Regions from separate parts of the Homo sapiens genome. Here all the other regions are linked to region 4. The links are contacts of gene promoters, found by promoter capture Hi-C in blood cells and fetal thymus (Javierre and others, 2016). All regions are on one chromosome and are shown on one strand. The core of a region is centred on a gene start or on the middle of the fragment in contact, and the rest is flanking DNA. Distances in the headings are between cores, read along the strand shown.

Region 1 (2,700 bases), core at 125-2,624, 630 kb before region 4:
CATCCTGCCTCAGCCTCTCAAAGTGCTGGGATTGCAAGCATAATAACTCTATCTTTTCCCTTTCTGGTAAATGCCCCAAAACTGTGGTGTATGCTGTTCCTCACTGCTCCAAGCCAATAACCCTGACCTAATCAGACTTCATGTGTGCCCCTGGTGTTTGGGTCTTGGGCAAGGATCAATGGAGAAATCGGCTTACTCTTCCTTCCCCCTTAAACTACAGAGTAATGTGATGGTCACTTTCTATCAATGACTGTATTGGTGTTTATGAGCCTCTCTCAAGCTTTCAGGAAACAGCATGGGTTTTAATCCTAGTAGGGAACCTGCTTGTCCATGCAGGAAATGTTTAGCAATTTTCTCTCTTCCTTTTGAGTTTTCTCTTTGTCCAGATCACTGTAATTTTTTTCCCCTTCTATTCTGCTGGGCATTCTGTGAGCCCTTTTGAATGGAGGTTGGACCTTTCTTGCCTCTCTGCCTCCAGGGGAGGACTTTGAGCTCTTACACAGCAAGTACTTTACGGGGAAAGACGGGACAGGCTGCACCACACACACCTGGGGTGTGGTGGGCTCCCCACACTGGCGAGTGTGTGGGCAGCTGAGAGATGAGTTGGGTTTTCTGGTTCCCTTGGAGGGAGTTCTCAGTTGCTTTTCTGATTCAGAAATGGAGCAGCAACCCCCTCCATACACACCTTCCTTGGCAAAGCTTCTCTGCCTGGAGCAGCAGGTCCCTTAGGTTCAGATTAAGGGCCTTCCTACTCCTGAGGTCTAAGAGTCACTGGCCCTAAGACAGGGCCCTCTGGTGCCCTCCCCTCTCTTCCCTCACTGTCGGGGAGAAGGAGTGCAGCACCTGAACCCCACGGGTACTGCCTATCAGGCTCACTGCAGGGTTCACATTGGTGTGCTGAGGTTTGTGCATCCCCCACCTCCACTCCCACCCTCCACCCCTCTCTGGGGAGGATGCTGTCTGCATTCGTCACCATCCTGACTCAGGACCAGACTTCAGGTTTCTTCAGAAATTGGTGGGATCTTAACTCTTAAGCTCTCAAATTGGGTGCTTCTTTCCAGTGGCCACTGTCACAGGACCCCTGAGACCCTCACGTTCAGACCTGAGCCAGGCTGAAAGGAGAAGCACCACATCAGGCATCCAAGTGCTGATTCTGCCATGGGGTCAGCCCGTGCTGCCAGCACAGCCAGGCGACAGGTTGGAGGTGCTCGGCTTTGGGCTTGGGTGTAGTAGGGGGAACATTTCTCCCTCTCTGCCCCTTGCTGGTTCTGCCAGTGGGGATTGCTGGGCGGCCCAAACCCCACGAATGAGGAGCGGAGCCAGTGCTGCTTTGCATGGCCTGCGAATGTGGGTTAGGAAGCCCACGCATCAGCCCCTCACTGCTACTGTTTGGATGGAAACTTCCCAATGTGTCTAATAAAGTTCTGTCAAAACCCCCGGGCCGCGGGCTCTTAGGAGGTAGTTGAGTAGCATTTGACTTCTTAAATTTATTCATTTATTTACTTCTAACTGTGGTAAACGCACATGACATAAAATTGGCCATTTTAACCATTTTTAGGTGTACAATTTAGTGGCATTAAGCACATTCACACAGTTGTGCAGCCATCACCACCATCCAGCTCCCGCACTCTTCAACCTCTCAAACAGAAACTCTACCCATTCAACAACTCCCCACTTCTCTCTCCTGCCAGACCAACAACCCCCTTTCTACTGTCTATCTCTGTGAACTTGACCACTCCAGTACCTCATGTGGGTACAATCATGCAGTGTTTGTCCTTCCGTGACTGGCTTATTTCACTGGATAGAATGACCTCAGGGTCTATCCACATCACAGCATGTGTAGACTCTCCTTCCTCTTTAAGGCTGAGTAGTATTCCACTGTATAACATAAGCCACGTTTTGCCCGTGCACCCATCCATCCATGCACACTTCAGTTGCTTCCACTCTTGGGCTGTTGTGAACACGGGTGTGTGGGTGTCGTCTCGGCGGCATACATTTTGACTCCTGCCAATCAAAGATATTCAATAGACATCTTCTGATGTCTATAGTTCAAGCTTGTGGGGAAAATTCCAGCTGTGTGGCTCTTTAGACAACTAAACAAGTCAGCATCCCCCATCCCTCCCACTCCCCATAGAAAAGAGAAAGAGCATGCCTGTTCTAGAGATTGTGACTCCTTGGAGCTTCTGCCTCAGCCAGCAGCGCCATCCCTGAAACCGTGAGGGAAAAGTGCTCTTCATTTGTCCACGTGCCCTTGGCTATTCTTAGTGGGAAGAAGCAAGCCTGGCTCTAATTTAATGTTCATTTCCTGCCATGAATGTTGCAGGGGGTCCTGCGTCATCCTCAGGACCCTGCAATGGAATTTCCAAGGGGCTTGCCTATCTGGTCTTCAGCTCACTCATGAGCCCTTTTGGCAGCCTGCACAACACCATGTTGATTTGTGACAGTTCTCCCAGTCCCTAAGCGGTATGTTTGTGCATTAGGAGGTTTGCGCCCTCCTTGCCAAGGGCCCATCTCTCTCCCTCGGCCACTGTTGGCAGCTCCCAAGCTCCCCCCACCTCTACCAGACGAGGAGAGCTGGAGCTCTGAGCACAGCCTCCATGGCAGACCCGTGTGTGTCGGGCCCTGCACCACCCCAGTGGAGGGCGGTGCGTGGTTTGGTCTTTGTTCCCTGGGTGGAAACTCCGCCTCTCCACTGCAGGT
Region 2 (2,700 bases), core at 67-2,566, 790 kb before region 4:
GCCTCCCACATTCCAAGCCCGGGCCCTCTGCGTGACGCTGACGCTGGGTAGGGACAGATGGCACTGTTCAGCATTGTCGCAGGGAGAGCACAGGTTGAGCCCATCCCTGGGAGAGGGTGCGTCGTGATGGAAACATTTGCTCCTGAGCAGGTAACCGGTCCACTTGCAGAAACCGGTGGACGATGAGTAGGTGGACCACAAAGGCGTCCTCGGCACTTTGGGGGCAGGTGTATTATTTTTAACATTCGGGGCAGCTCATAGGAATACATCCTCCAGAGAAGGCGGGAAGAACTCCGTGATTGCTTTCTTTTAATTGATACTCTCCGTCTGGTAGGCCTCATGGGTCTCCATCATGGAATCACAGAACTTGAGAATAAAGGGGCTTCATCACCTTAGCTTCCACTCGGTGAGCACTAGCTCTACCTGGTATCTCATTTGATCCACACTCCTTTAAGGTAAAGATTTTTACCAGATTTACGGTGAGGAAAGTTCAGCTCAGATTTGCTCCAGGCCACGTGAACGGTAACTGTGCCAGCTGAGATTTGAACTGGGATGTGGTAGATGGCAAAGCCATGTAAGTATATTACGGGATCAGAAATGCCTCTCATCCCTCAGTCACTCAGGTGACTCCAGAGGACTGAGACTTGCCATAAGCCCAGCCAGAACTAGATGTGCGGAATACAGCCCTCCCCCGACCCCACCCCACTGTGTCCCTGAAACAGGACGCTTTCCTGAAGAACCTGAGTTAAGGCCACCCTACCTGAATTTCCACTAAGTGTCAAGACAGGCTAGTATTTTGAAATTCAGAGCAAAGTTTGTGTAGAAAAGGCTCCCAGCCCCTGACAGCTACCTAGATGTGTTGTTGATATCGTTACAAATTAGGAAATGGTCTCCTAGTTCTCAAATGGTGAGTCTTAAGCTTCAGTTTGTAAAAACAAGCCCTAAAATGATGAAACATTAATTCTGCATTTATCTTCTTTCTGATTCCTTTTGTCTTATATTTTAATTTTTTTTTTTTTTTTAGCTTTCTGACTTACGGGTGTAATCCATTTAGCTTTGCTTTTTTACTGATAGAGTTATTTAGTTCTGTTATTTTTCTTCTAATAACTGCTTTAGCTGTGTCACATAGGTTCAGCTATGTTGTGTTTTATTATTAAGAAATTCTGCAATTTAATTTTGTGTTTAATTTTTGACCTAATGGGTAGCAGAACATTTTAAATGACCCTGTGGTCATTCGATAGGGTCAGTAAAATCCGGACTCTGGAAACAAACATACCCAGTTTCTACAACAACGATGCACAAAGAAAAACAAGAGAGATGGAGACAGAACCAAGAGATTAAAAAAAGACTTAGCCAACTGCCATGTATGGATCTTATTGGATTCTTTTTTTTTTTTTTTTTTGGATCTTATTGGATTCTAATCAAAGAATAAACTAGTAGAAAATCAATTTTTATGAGACAACCTTGGAAAATATGACACTGACAGGATATTTTCTAGTATTAATGAACAATTTATGTTAGGGGTGATAATGTGATTACACACACACATATATTTTTCTTTTCTTAAGTCCTTGCTTTTCAAGAACAGTGCCAAAATATTTCCTAGTGAAATAACATTATGCCTGGAGTTGTTTCAAAATAATTTGGGGTGGGGAAATGGATAGGGCCTATATATATACGAAATACTATCAGCCATGGATTGTGGATAATCGCTGAAGCTTGATGATGGATATGCAGCAGTTCATCTTACTAGTCTGTCTCCTTTTGTAATGCTTGAAAAATTCCATAATGAAAACATTTTTAAATTACAGATGAACATACCATTTTCTCTTTACCCAGCATTTCCCTTTATAGGAAATTATCTTGTAGATATACTTGCTCCTGTGTAAAACGATAGACACACAAGAGTAGTCATTGTAGAATTGTTTGTAATAGAAAAATACTGGGCCATGTTATGTGTTCGTCAACAAGGGCTTAGTTAAATACAGTATGGTGCATTTTAGAATTATTTACATATGCGGCTGTTAAAATGAACGAGGTAACTATATTTACTGATTTGGCATGATCTCCAAGATAAATCAACTGAGAAAAATAAAAGTAGAGAACACTTTGTAGGTAGAAACCAACCATTTGTGTTCATGAGCAAAGAAAGGACGGGGGAAGACAATGTATATTTATAAGCGGTTGCTTCTGGGGAGATCTGAGTGGCTAGGGGTCATGGGGTGGAAAGGAGATTAATTTTTACTGTACACATTTTTATTTCTTGTAAATTTTGAGCTATGTTAATGTACTCATTCAAAAACTAAATATATATATACACGAATATATACATATATACGTATATATACACGAATATATATATACGTATATATACGTATGTATGTACATATACATGTATATATGTGTATATATACGTGTATATATACACGTATATATACATATATACATATACACATATACACACATATACACATGTATGTATATGTATATATGTATCTGTATGTATATATGTATATATATGTGTATATATGTATATATATGTGTGTATATATATATGTGTGTGTGTGTATATATATATGTATTTGAGATGGAGTCTTGCTCTGTTGCCCATGCTGGAGTACAGTGGCACTGTCTTGGCTCACTGAAACCTCTGCCTCCCAGGTGCAAGCGATTCTCCTGCCTCAGCCTCCTGAGTAGCTG
Region 3 (2,700 bases), core at 16-2,515, 850 kb before region 4:
CTGGCTGCTGTCCTAAGAAGTGATTTAAGGTGTGTGGGGAGGGGAAGCGGTGTGTATAAGACTGGAAGCAGGGAAACAAATTAGAAGCCTGTACTGTAATCCAGGCAATAGATGGCAGCAGCTTTGACTACAATAGTAAATTTGGTGGGTTGGAGCATGCATGTATTTTGAAGATAGAGCCAATAGGATTTCCTGAATTTTGAGGAAAAAGTCAAGTCAGGTAAAACTCTAAGGTCTTTGAATAATACACAAATGAAGGGCCTGTTAACTAGCTTAAGTTATGCTATTTAAAATTATTTAATTTCAAAAACAGTTTTATAAAACCACAAGCAAGTGATTTTTTCTTTTTTAAAGAAAATTACATTTGATTAATCAGTGTTGTTGATTGGTTAATAAGTACAAAGTGTCCTAAGATCCTTAAGTGAACTCTTCTGTGTCTATTATATCTCAAGTGGATACTATTGATCAATTAATTTTTTTTTAGGGCCTTCTATTTGTAAGGCACCGTCATAGGCAATCCACTAGAAGCAGTGAGAGAAGACAGAGTAGGAGGGTAGGGGTAAAGGGGAGTATGTTCCTCTGAGTTTTAATCTCTGTTTTACAAAGAAAAATTTAATGATTGAGATTATTCTCCAATTATGAAGAATAGTCGAAGAATACATGTCTGCTCATTGTCTTTTGGAAAATACACACACAGTCTGACCTTTGATCAAGAATGCATTTTAGATTGACCATTTTAGCTTGATGGTTACTTTACTTACTAGTACAGACTATGTAGTGGTGTTAACTTTCATAAATATGGGTTACACTGCATATGGCTTTTAATTTACTTTTGCTGTTATTCAGCCAGTATTTTCCTCTTGATCAGCACATTCAGGCATATTGTTCTAGTAAGCAAAACTTTATGTGCCAGTCATACTTTCCTTTGAAGCAATCTTTGTACAACTGTCTTGATTAGTCCCCCAAAATCATTTTGGAAAGGATCTTTGACTCTATTTTTTAAATACACAATTGAATCAGAGCATTAAAACTGGAAGGATCCAAGAGATCATCTTGTATTGTTGAACTACTTATTATTTTATCTGTGGAGGAACTGAGATCCTGAGAAGTGCTGTAACATGCCCAAGGTCACACAGAGCTAGGACCAGGTCCATAGCAACATAGCCCTGTGCTTCTCAAACTTTAATGTGCTTCTTGAATCTTAGATTAAGCAAGCTGTCAAACCCTGCTCTCAGTCCCTGTTTCCCTTCTACAAAGGCAGTGGGTATACAGTGAGCTTACTTCTCATTTTCTACCAAATGATGTTCAGTGATGACCCAAGAATTGTTGAGTTTGGCCAACTGCTAGAAATCTGGTTAAAAGGTGAGTTCTGATGTATTCAGGTTGATGCCCCAGATTCTCCATTTCTTACAAGCTCCTAAGATACTGACTGACGTTGCTGTGCTGGTGCTGCTGGTCCCTGGATCACACTTTGAGTGGCAGGGCTAAAATGTTCTTCCTGATAACTGGCTATCTCAGATTCTTTTAACATGTTTAATTAAAAGGGTTTTTTTTTGGGCCAAGAGCAGTGGCTCACGCCTGTAATCCCAGCATGTTGGGAGGCGGGCGGATTACCCTGAGGTCAGGAGTTCAAGACCAGCCTGGCCAACATGGTGAAACCCCGTCTCTACTAAAAATACAAAAATTAGCTGGGCACTGTGGCATGCACCTGTATCCCAGCTATTCGGGAGGCTGAGGCAGGAGAGTCACTTGAACCTGGGAGGCAGAGGTTGCAGTGAGCCGAGATCGCGCCATCGCACGCCACCCTGGGCAACAAGAGCGCAACTCCGTCTCAAAAATAAATTTTTTTTCAATTCATCTGTGAGATAGGTGATATAGATATTATCTGAGGTATAATAAGTAATAAACAAATGAATGCTTTCCTTATTAACCTTTACTATTAAGAGTGGAAATTAGATTTCCAGAAGGTAAGTATGAGACACTTGCCAGATTTTACAATTGAACTTGTACAAATGTCCAGTTACGATTAGTTTAGAAAATGTCTTGGCTTTAGAGACCTTTGCTGAATGGAGTAGAATGCTGTGCCCCATTTGTAGATTGCTGCTGTGGTAGTCTTGGTATAGTTTTATAGTTTATCATCCTTTTAAAATAATAACTGATTACATGGTTAAGATAACCCTATCAATAAGCTGGTGTTTGTTTTTTAACTAGGAAATCTCATTTTAAGTTCCAGGGCTAGATGGTTAATTGATGTTTTAAAAATAGCTGCATGTTGTGTATACATGAAAGCTAACTTTGAATTTCTTGTACATAAATATTTTAAACTTTGAAATAAAACACTAGGAAATTCTTTCATTTAGAATGAACATAGAAAATTTCATTTTTAATAGTCTCAGATTAGTCTTATCAGAAAATCTTTTTGTTTACTGCTTATTTTAACTTGAATCCCAGTGAACTGGTTTGCCGTTCCAGATGGTATTTTTCAAGAGTGCATCTCTTTGATTTCAGGAGTAGCACTGTAGATGGGTTAAGGAAAAGACCCCTCATCGTATTTGATGGAAGTTCAACAAGTACAAGCATAAAAGTGAAAAAGACAGAGAATGGAGATAATGATCGACTGAAGCCTCCCCCGCAGGCAAGCTTTACCAGTAATGCCTTTAGAAAATTATCAAATTCCTCTTCGAGTGTTTCACCCCTAAT
Region 4 (2,700 bases), core at 162-2,661:
ATGTAGGTAGTATTACTGCCATAATAATAGTTATTCAACTTTAAATGGTCTTTCCTCTTGGGTCTCAGCTTTCTTACTCAAGATTGACCACACACACACTTTAGACTAGTTCTTCCTCCCTTGCAAAACTACACACATCTAACACCCATCCGACGCCTGAAACCTCCCCTAGCAACCCGGAGTCCTGCTGGGGTTTTCCAGCTCCACCTCCTGAACAGCTGGGCTGTAGCACACAGGCTGGATCTACTCATACTTGCCTTCCTAGAGCTCAACTGAAGTCACTTCAGACAAGTGAAGTACCCACTCACCTCTGGAATCAGATCTTGGTAACGCCAACAGGTTAGCAGGTGATTTCATTTCAGTGTGTGTCTGGGTGGCTAGCATTCAAACGCAGCTCACACTGGGAGCTATTTCTAGTCCAATTTTGCTACTTGGTAACGTATTAATAGCATCAATTAAAACATTCCCAACGAATAGATCTTTAAAAGGACGGTTTCTGACTTCCCTAACAAGCAGAGGGCCGACCACCTGCCTGCGAAGTGCCCCTCCTGCCCTGTCTCCAGGCAGCATGCTGTGAGCGATGACAGAAACTGGACCCGCGCACAGAGAAGCTGCAGGCACGCCCTGCCCGGCCACCCAGCTGCCTGCCTGCTTCGCCCGGCCGCCGAGCCCCGGGGGAAAACCTAGAATGGGGATGCCGGTGCGCCCCGACACCTGGGCACGGCCGCGGGCCGGGGAGCCGCCCACACTTGGCTCCCCAAGAGTTAAACGCTGAGTAATTTTCCTGAGGAGCAAACAGTCGGAGCGGGGGCTCTGCCAATGGCCACAGTATTTTTATCCGACTTAACCGACACCGCGGCGCGACCTCGGCTGTCCCCAAGGGTATCCCCACGCGGCACGCTCCGGAGTCCCCGACCGGGACCCTCGCCGGCTCCCAGCGCGACATGGACGACAGCGCCGCCGCCGAGTCCCCCGCGCCCGGGCAGGAGGCAGAGACCTGGGGCCGCCCGAGGACTGCTAGGGGCCCCTCCGCCCGGGGTCCGCGCCCGGGCCTAAGCGGTAGGGGGTGTGCGCCCAAGTTGGCCCGCTTTGCTGCAAGAGTGGAAAGGGGTGGGAGCAGAAAGCGCCGGCCCCGCCCGGGGCGGGGAGCAACGCGGGGCTGCAGGGCCGCCTCGGGGCCCCGAACCACCGCCGCCCGGCCCACCGCGGCGCCGGGGAATGAATGGGGCTCCCCAGCTGGCAGCGGGCGCGCACTCACAGGCGACGTAGGCCAGCAAGGCGATGCCCAGCAGCAGCTTCATCCTCCTGCGGTTGACGGCAGACACGAGGCGCAGCAGCGCCTTGCTCACCATCCCCGGGAGCCGCGCGGGTCCAGGGCCCTACCGCGCGGGGGCCCGCCTGCTGCACAATGCGCGGCGGCGGCGGCGGCAGCGGCCCCGAGAGCCCCGCCTCCTGCCGCCGCGCGCCCCCGCCCCCGCGCGCCTGCTTCCTGCTGGCGGGATCACCGCGCAGGCGCGCCTCCACCCCCTTCCTCCGGCTCCGCCCCCGCCCCTCCGGCTTCTCTACCCGCAGGCGCAGTTGCCGCCTTTCTTGCCTTGGTTTTCGAAGAATGTGACCTGGAGGGCTGGTGGGCGGTGCGGCGCGCCGCGGCGCATGCGCGTTCCGGTCTGTTTTCCCTGAGTTAAAGCGCGCGGGTGCCAGCCGGGAGGTGCGGCTGGATTCGTTTCGCTGAGGTGCGTCCCCAACCCAAGGGCACGACTGCAGTGGCCAGTTTCCGAGCCCCGCCCGGAGGGGGGCACGCGGTGGGCATTCCGGTGTTGCAGTGAAACGAAACTTATTTGCTAAACTTGGCCGAGCCTTAGAAGTTGAATGCCTGCCTCAGAAAGTTGCCTCGTTCTCTGGGCTGTTTAGTTGGCTTTTTTTAGTTAGAATATCGGCAGCGAAAATGATAAATCCCCTAAACCTTGCCGAAGTAAAAACTGGCTGCGTTTTTTTTCCTTGGCTATGATCAACTGGGGTGCCTTTGTTTTAATAATAGTCTTTTATTATTATTTTAAAAAGCAGTGCTAAGTATATTAATTTAGGATAGACTTGGAAAAGAAAAGATGAAATTGCGCTGTCTCTGCCTAGAGAAAAACCCTGACCATGTTGTCGTGTGTGTTTCATTCAATCTTTTTGTTGAGTATATCTGTTTTATGAGTGCTGTACTGATTGCATAGGAGGTACCTGTGTTTAAAAAGCATTTACTGAATGATGATTACAAGCAAGGAGATGTATCAGAAGATCCACAGATAATCGGAAGCTTGTCATTGGATCTGGAGAGAGCTGGTCCCATGGAGGAAAAAAAGACAGGTACACACAGATGTGTGTGATGCCACATTAAGAGAGATCCCGGATTTGGGATCTGCAGGCTTCAAGAGGTCATCTTCAGCTATACGGAGAAGTTGAAGTCAGCAGCGGCTCTCCTACCTCTTGGAACCTCAGGCCATTTTGCAAAACTTAATAGATCACCCTCCTTTAGATTTATTAGAAACCTCCAAGAAAAGGAAATATGGCAGCTGGTACTAAAGCAGCAGCTTTATGTTACATCTTTCAAACTATAGTGCAAATGATGTGATTCTGATAAAACCTACCTCCATCCTACCCCTCCCCTAAACCTGTTGAGAATCCCTGACTAGGAGGAAACACTGAGCGGTTTGC
Region 5 (2,700 bases), core at 115-2,614, 830 kb before region 4:
TCGTCCCTCTCTGTGAGGAAGCCACGCCCCACCAGTGAGAGGGAGCACTTCTTACAGTTAAAGCAGTCGTTATGCCACTGCCGTTCCTCAAAGGAGATGTATTTTGTGCCACCAAGTCCTGTTAACAGAGAGAAAATAATACCGGATGAAGAAAGTTAGAATCAGGCAACTGGGACTGAAGAAGGAATTCTGGTTTGATCCATTTCAAAGTTTGGATTGTGTAATATGGATAATGTGAATTTCTAGTGACTGGGTGTTGGGAATCCATATGTAAATCAGATTCTATGCACAGCCTGGAGGATCTCGTGAATATCAGAAGAGATATATAAACTGGTTCCAAAACGATGGGATAAGTGCGATCAAAGAATGCTGACTGTGTATTTGTTATGTGTTTTCCCACAAAATGAAACTCCATGAGAAGAGGGAGCAGATTTCTCTTATGTCTTCACTAGGTGCCTCACGTTGCCTGGTGCTCAAATTTTTATGACTTAATGATTGAAGCAGTGAAGGGAGTGTAGAAGAGGAAAAGGTTAATCCTCCCTGGGATGGCCAGGAAAGGCCTCACAGATAAAGTGCGATGTGGGTGGGAATGAGGGGAGAGGGATATTGTCGCAGTGGGAAGATCCTGAGAAAGCTGCAGACAGATAGAATGGAATCAAATATTTAAGGTACATTGGTCCGTGATTATAATACAGTTGGTTTTTACCTAGTGTTTTTTCTCAGTGCCACAATAACCACAATTCACATTCATATCTAATGTTTTACATTTAAAAGTGCTTTTATATAGATTGTATCACTTTATAAAGCTTAATGTTATAAACATTTACCTCAACAGAAGTTACTGCTGAAAACAGCATTAAAGATGAATATGTTCTGGCAAAAGATTACATTTTCCCCCTAAAAGATTCCAAGGGAAATCTGGTATATAAATGACCAGAAACAGATATTTTAACATAGGTAAAGTGTAAATACTGTGCTTTTCTTCATATTTTAATTTCACATGGAAATGTAATGAGCTCTGCATTACACATGAGAGTACTGTTTTAGCGACCTGGGAAGGTGAGTTAGCTGAGTTAGGTGAACTTGGTTCTAGGCCTAAGGGAAAGGAAAGTCAAGGACAAGTACACAGGGGGTGTATAGATGTGTTTCTGTAGTTACACTGAAAAGCCACACAGGAAAGCCAGGCCACCGGGTACTCCAAGTGTCTGCCACCTTCCTCTGATAGGAACGAACCAGTCAACTGAATGCAACGGGATTGCAAATCCCACATCATAAAACTTCTCCTGTGTTATTACAGAACACACACTTTTCTCTCCCCACCCAGTCACTCATTTGTGTAGCGATATGTGGTGACCATTTAAAGGACTTTAGTGTGAACTCCTCTGTTCTCCACACTGAATTTCTCCAGCCTGCTTAATAGTCTAGTCCAGAAGCCTGGTCTGCCAGCCAGCCAGATTTTGGGCTCTCACTTAGCTGAATTCTTTGGGGGAATACAATATGAAAAACTCCTTAGAATGTACCCTCTGCCCTCATATAGCTATGGCCTTGTGGTAGAAGTTTCCCATTAAGATGTTTTGGAGTACAACCGTCCCACTAAGATGCTAGGGGACACTTCTAAGAACACAGCACAGCTGCTAAGCCTGAAAAGGCCAGTTTTTATTGTGCTTTTGTGATGTCACAGGCTCACAGACTGCAGTTTTAGCGATAATCCAACCCAAAGCAGAAACTAAACTGGAGCACTGGCCATATGGTTGTGATCAGGTGGGCTGCAGAGGAAGGAATCATTACTTGCTGAAGCATAGCCAGTGCACCAAGGAGAGGAAAGCAGATAGGCAGAAAAGTCTGCTGTGTTCAGAGCCTTAGGGAGGTCTGGGGAGTTGAGGGATATAGACAGGGTCACAGGCTAAAATGCTAGGCCTTGTTCAAGCTTCCAATCGCCCCTGGAAATGGGAACCCCGGGACACTCACCGCTGATGGGGTTGGTGCACCCAGCACACTTCTTGGCATACAAGTCACAGAAGCAGTTCAGGCAGTAGGCAAAGTCATCGCGAGCTGTGAAGCGCTGCCCAGACAGCTGCTTCCTGCAGGCGGTGCACACGAAGCACTCCTTGTGCCAGGGCTGCTCCCGGTAAGTGACCCCTCCCGTGGTGATGGGCTGCAGGGACGAGGGGGAGAGTTAGTGTGGCCTCTGTGCTTGGCAGACATCTTCAGTCTCAGCTACTGCCACTGGACGATGCAAGATCCTCATCCAGAAACGTCCAGTTTGTTAAGTCACCAAGAAGCTGCTTTACAAACTTCACAGTCACTCGTCACCCTCACCACACGCTTTCATTCCAGTGTCATAGGCCCTGGCTTTCCCGTTAGTGAAACTGGAGCTTGGGGTTGCCCTCAGCCCTTCCCAGGGATGCTGGGGATCTAAGGCATAGGGTGCCTCAGTGGTGTTGCCACCTTTCTGAGCAGGGAAGCAGCACAGTGGAGGGGTCGGGATTCAATACAGCATCAAGGAGACCTGGGTTTGAATCCTAACCCTACTCCTTACCAGCCCTGTGGCTGGGAGCAGGTCATGATAAAGATCTCTGCACTTCAGTTTTCTCATCCAGGAAGTGAGGGTGATGAGGTTAATTGGGCAAGTTGATGAGGAGTCCTTACTTAGAAGCCTGGCAGGGCTGGTGGCTCACACCTGTAATCTCAGGACTTTGG
Region 6 (2,700 bases), core at 49-2,548, 610 kb before region 4:
TCGTAAGAGTGTACGCACAGTTTCCTTTTGTCCTCATGGAATGTTGCTGCTCCCCCCAGAAAGGACTGCCAAGCAGCAGCCCCTCAACTTGCAAAGATGCGGAGGAGCCTGTCTGCAGGGCTTCCGTCAGCTTATTTTTTACTTTGGGAAAAAGTCTGTGCCCACAGGCCTCTCCTCCTCCCTCAGTCTCCTTCCCTTCTTTCTCTGACCCCTGCTTCCCTGGGACTCCGCTGAGCTGGCCTGTCCACTTTGCCTCCTTGAAGATGGGGCACTCGTAAGACCAGCATGCTGAGGTTGACCCACTGGCACCACGTGACTTCAGCATGGTAGTTTAGTAAAAGGCCAGCTCTCCTTAGGAATGATGGCGGAGAGGGAGAAGGTATGGAAAACACAGAAAACCCCACCCTGCACCACTGAAGTGGAGATAGAGCAGCCACAGAGAGTGGATGGGCAAGGACTCTCCTCTGGCCTCTCATGTCCTGGGCTTCAGGGTCCCCATGACAACTGTCCATGGGCACCCACACACCCAGGAACCTACAGGTGCTGGGATTGGACCTCCAGGCAGGCCAGTGGTTCTCGAGCTGCATGCTCAGCACCCTGGAGGGCCTGTTAGAATACAGAGGCCTGCACCCCACCCCAAGTTTTCAATTCAATAAACTTGAGGTGTGGCCCCCAGGTGTGCACTTCTGACAGCTTCCCATGTGCCGCTGAGGACCCAGGTCCAGGGACCCCCTCACTTGGAGAACTACTGGGGTTAGCAAATAAGGCAGAAAGTAGGTAAGCAGAAGTCCTGGTTTGTTTAACCTGCATGATGAATTGTTCAGTGACGACTCACTGCAATTTCTCGCTCACTTTCTGTATTTTATACCTGAATTTCTCTTTGTCAAGAACTGGGAAGGGCCTGAGATTGACACTCCTTGCAAGTTAACCTGTTAACTGGCACAGTTTCGAGAATGCTGGCAGAAGACACAAGACGCCTGGGATAGAGGCAGAGGACAGTTTGCAACTCACAGCCACAACAGCAGCTAGGGTGTCAGCACTTGCACCAGTTTCCAAAGTCATCCCTCAGGGTGATGGTGGCACCTGCACCGTTGTGGGTTGTGCTGTAGAAGAGGAGCCTCGTGCTTAGGGAACCTAAGTCTTTTCTAACAGACAGTATGCCTGCCTGACTGTAACCTTGGAGAGAGACATTTCCTTATTACACTGACAGTAAAAATAACAACAACAACCACCAAACCAAATCAAAACAAAACAAAAAATTTTAAAAAAATCTTTTTGTTCCAGGGATAGATATTATCCCCATATATCAAGGCTATTGATGTACAAACATTCTTAAAATATAGTCTGGAACAAAGGCATCAAACACTTCCACTCTCAAGACGTGCAAAAACCTGAGACCCATGGAGAATTATCTCCAAACATCCTTCTACTTCTTCTCATTGGAAATTACTAAAATGCAAAATCCCCTTAAGGCTATCATGGTAGGCAGAATAATACCTCTTCCTCCCCACAAGATGTCCACCTTGAAACCTGTGAATATGCTACCTTACAGGTTTATTAGTTTCCCTTGGCTGCTGTAACAAAGTACCACCAGCTTGTTGGCTTAAAACAAGAGAAATTTATTGTCTCACAGTTCTGAAAGCTGAAAGTCTAAAATCAAAGTATAGTAGGATCAAGCTCCCTCTGAAGTTTCTAAGTGGGGATCTTTCTTGCCTCCTTTCATGCTGATCATTCCAGGAGTTTCTTGGCTCATCAATGCATCATGCCAGTCTTTGCTAGTGTCTCCATATGGCATTCTCCCTGTGTGTCTGGGTCTTCACATGGCTGTGTACTTATAAGGACACCAGTTGGCCAGGCATGATGGCTCATACTTGTAATTCCAGCAGCTTGAGAGACTGAGGCAGGAGGATCTTGAGGTCAGGAGTTTTGAGACCAGCCTGGGAGACATAGTGAGACCATGTCTCTACAAAAAAAATGAAAAAATTAGCTGGGTGTGATGGCATGCTCCTGCAGTCCCAGCTACTTGGGAGGCTGAGGTGGGAGGATCCCTTGAGCCCAGGAGTCCGCAGCTGTAGTGAGCTATCATCATGCCATTGCACTCCAGGCAACACTCTGGGCAACAGAGTTAGAACCTATCTCTAAAAAACGATAGAGAAAAGACACCAGTCATACTGGTTAAGGGGCTCACCCTACTCTAGTATGATCTCATCCTGACTAATTACATCTCAGTGGCCCTATTTCCAAATAAGGTCCCATTCTGTGGCACTAGGTGGGGGGTTAGGACTTCTTTTCTTTTGGCCGGGGGTGGGGGGGAGATGCAACTGGACCCATAGCACCTGACAAAGAGGAATTAAGGCTGCTCATCAACTGACCTTAATAAGGAGATGATCCTGAATTGTTGGGGTTGAGGAACAGTGTAATCATAAGGGTCCTTAAAAGTGGAAGAAGGAGGCAAAGAAGGTCAGAGCAACGCAATGTGAGAAGGACTTGGCCTTACATTACTGGCTTTGAAGATCGAGGAAGGGACCATGAGCCCAGCAATGTGGTGGCCCCTAGAAGCTGGGAAAGACCAGCAAACAGATTCTCCCCGGATCCTCCAGGAAGGAAGGCCATCCTACAAACACCTTGATTCTAGCCTGGTGAGACCTCTGTGGACTTCTGACCTGCTGGAATAGAACATGATAAATTCATGTTGTTTCA

What was found. The method cuts DNA at HindIII sites, captures the fragments that hold promoters and counts their contacts. A CHiCAGO score of 5 or more calls a contact.
Region 1: a contact is called between a fragment that was not itself captured here and the fragment with the promoter of UXS1 in region 4, in 1 of 17 cell types (activated CD4 T cells). The highest score is 6.6, in activated CD4 T cells.
Region 2: a contact is called between a fragment that was not itself captured here and the fragment with the promoter of UXS1 in region 4, in 1 of 17 cell types (fetal thymus). The highest score is 11.3, in fetal thymus.
Region 3: a contact is called between a fragment that was not itself captured here and the fragment with the promoter of UXS1 in region 4, in 10 of 17 cell types (neutrophils, total B cells, fetal thymus and 7 more). The highest score is 20.9, in neutrophils.
Region 5: a fragment that was not itself captured here is called in contact with the fragment with the promoter of UXS1 in region 4 in 9 of 17 cell types (fetal thymus, naive B cells, naive CD4 T cells and 6 more); the score reaches 11.1 in fetal thymus.
Region 6: a fragment that was not itself captured here is called in contact with the fragment with the promoter of UXS1 in region 4 in 7 of 17 cell types (activated CD4 T cells, non-activated CD4 T cells, total CD4 T cells and 4 more); the score reaches 9.9 in activated CD4 T cells.

Annotation. Positions count from the first base shown.
Region 1 is chr2:105,558,956-105,561,655 of GRCh38, forward strand. No RefSeq gene overlaps it. Among named protein-coding and RNA genes, the nearest start is that of LINC02946, 50 kb to the right of the region's middle. The HindIII fragment of the contact is 1,355 bases long and covers 698-2,052 here.
Region 2 is chr2:105,399,681-105,402,380 of GRCh38, forward strand. It overlaps a transcript of FHL2 not described here. Among named protein-coding and RNA genes, the nearest start is that of FHL2, 2.0 kb to the left of the region's middle. The HindIII fragment of the contact is 799 bases long and covers 918-1,716 here.
Region 3 is chr2:105,340,340-105,343,039 of GRCh38, forward strand. It overlaps C2orf49 (chromosome 2 open reading frame 49), which reads left to right. Exons shown (of 4, transcript NM_024093.3): 3 at 2,509-2,700. Among named protein-coding and RNA genes, the nearest start is that of C2orf49, 4.2 kb to the left of the region's middle. The HindIII fragment of the contact is 2,746 bases long and covers 1-2,638 here.
Region 4 is chr2:106,192,890-106,195,589 of GRCh38, forward strand. It overlaps UXS1 (UDP-glucuronate decarboxylase 1), which reads right to left and starts at 1,412. Exons shown (of 15, transcript NM_001253875.2): 1 at 1,259-1,412. The coding sequence starts at 1,352. RefSeq lists an enhancer at 505-554 and a silencer at 885-1,494. The HindIII fragment of the contact is 11,333 bases long and covers 1-2,300 here.
Region 5 is chr2:105,361,317-105,364,016 of GRCh38, forward strand. It overlaps FHL2 (four and a half LIM domains 2), which reads right to left. Exons shown (of 7, transcript NM_001318895.3): 6 at 1,969-2,155; 7 at 1-118. It also overlaps a transcript of C2orf49 not described here. Among named protein-coding and RNA genes, the nearest start is that of C2orf49, 25 kb to the left of the region's middle. The HindIII fragment of the contact is 1,121 bases long and covers 805-1,925 here.
Region 6 is chr2:105,579,561-105,582,260 of GRCh38, forward strand. No RefSeq gene overlaps it. Among named protein-coding and RNA genes, the nearest start is that of LINC02946, 30 kb to the right of the region's middle. The HindIII fragment of the contact is 4,227 bases long and covers 1-2,700 here.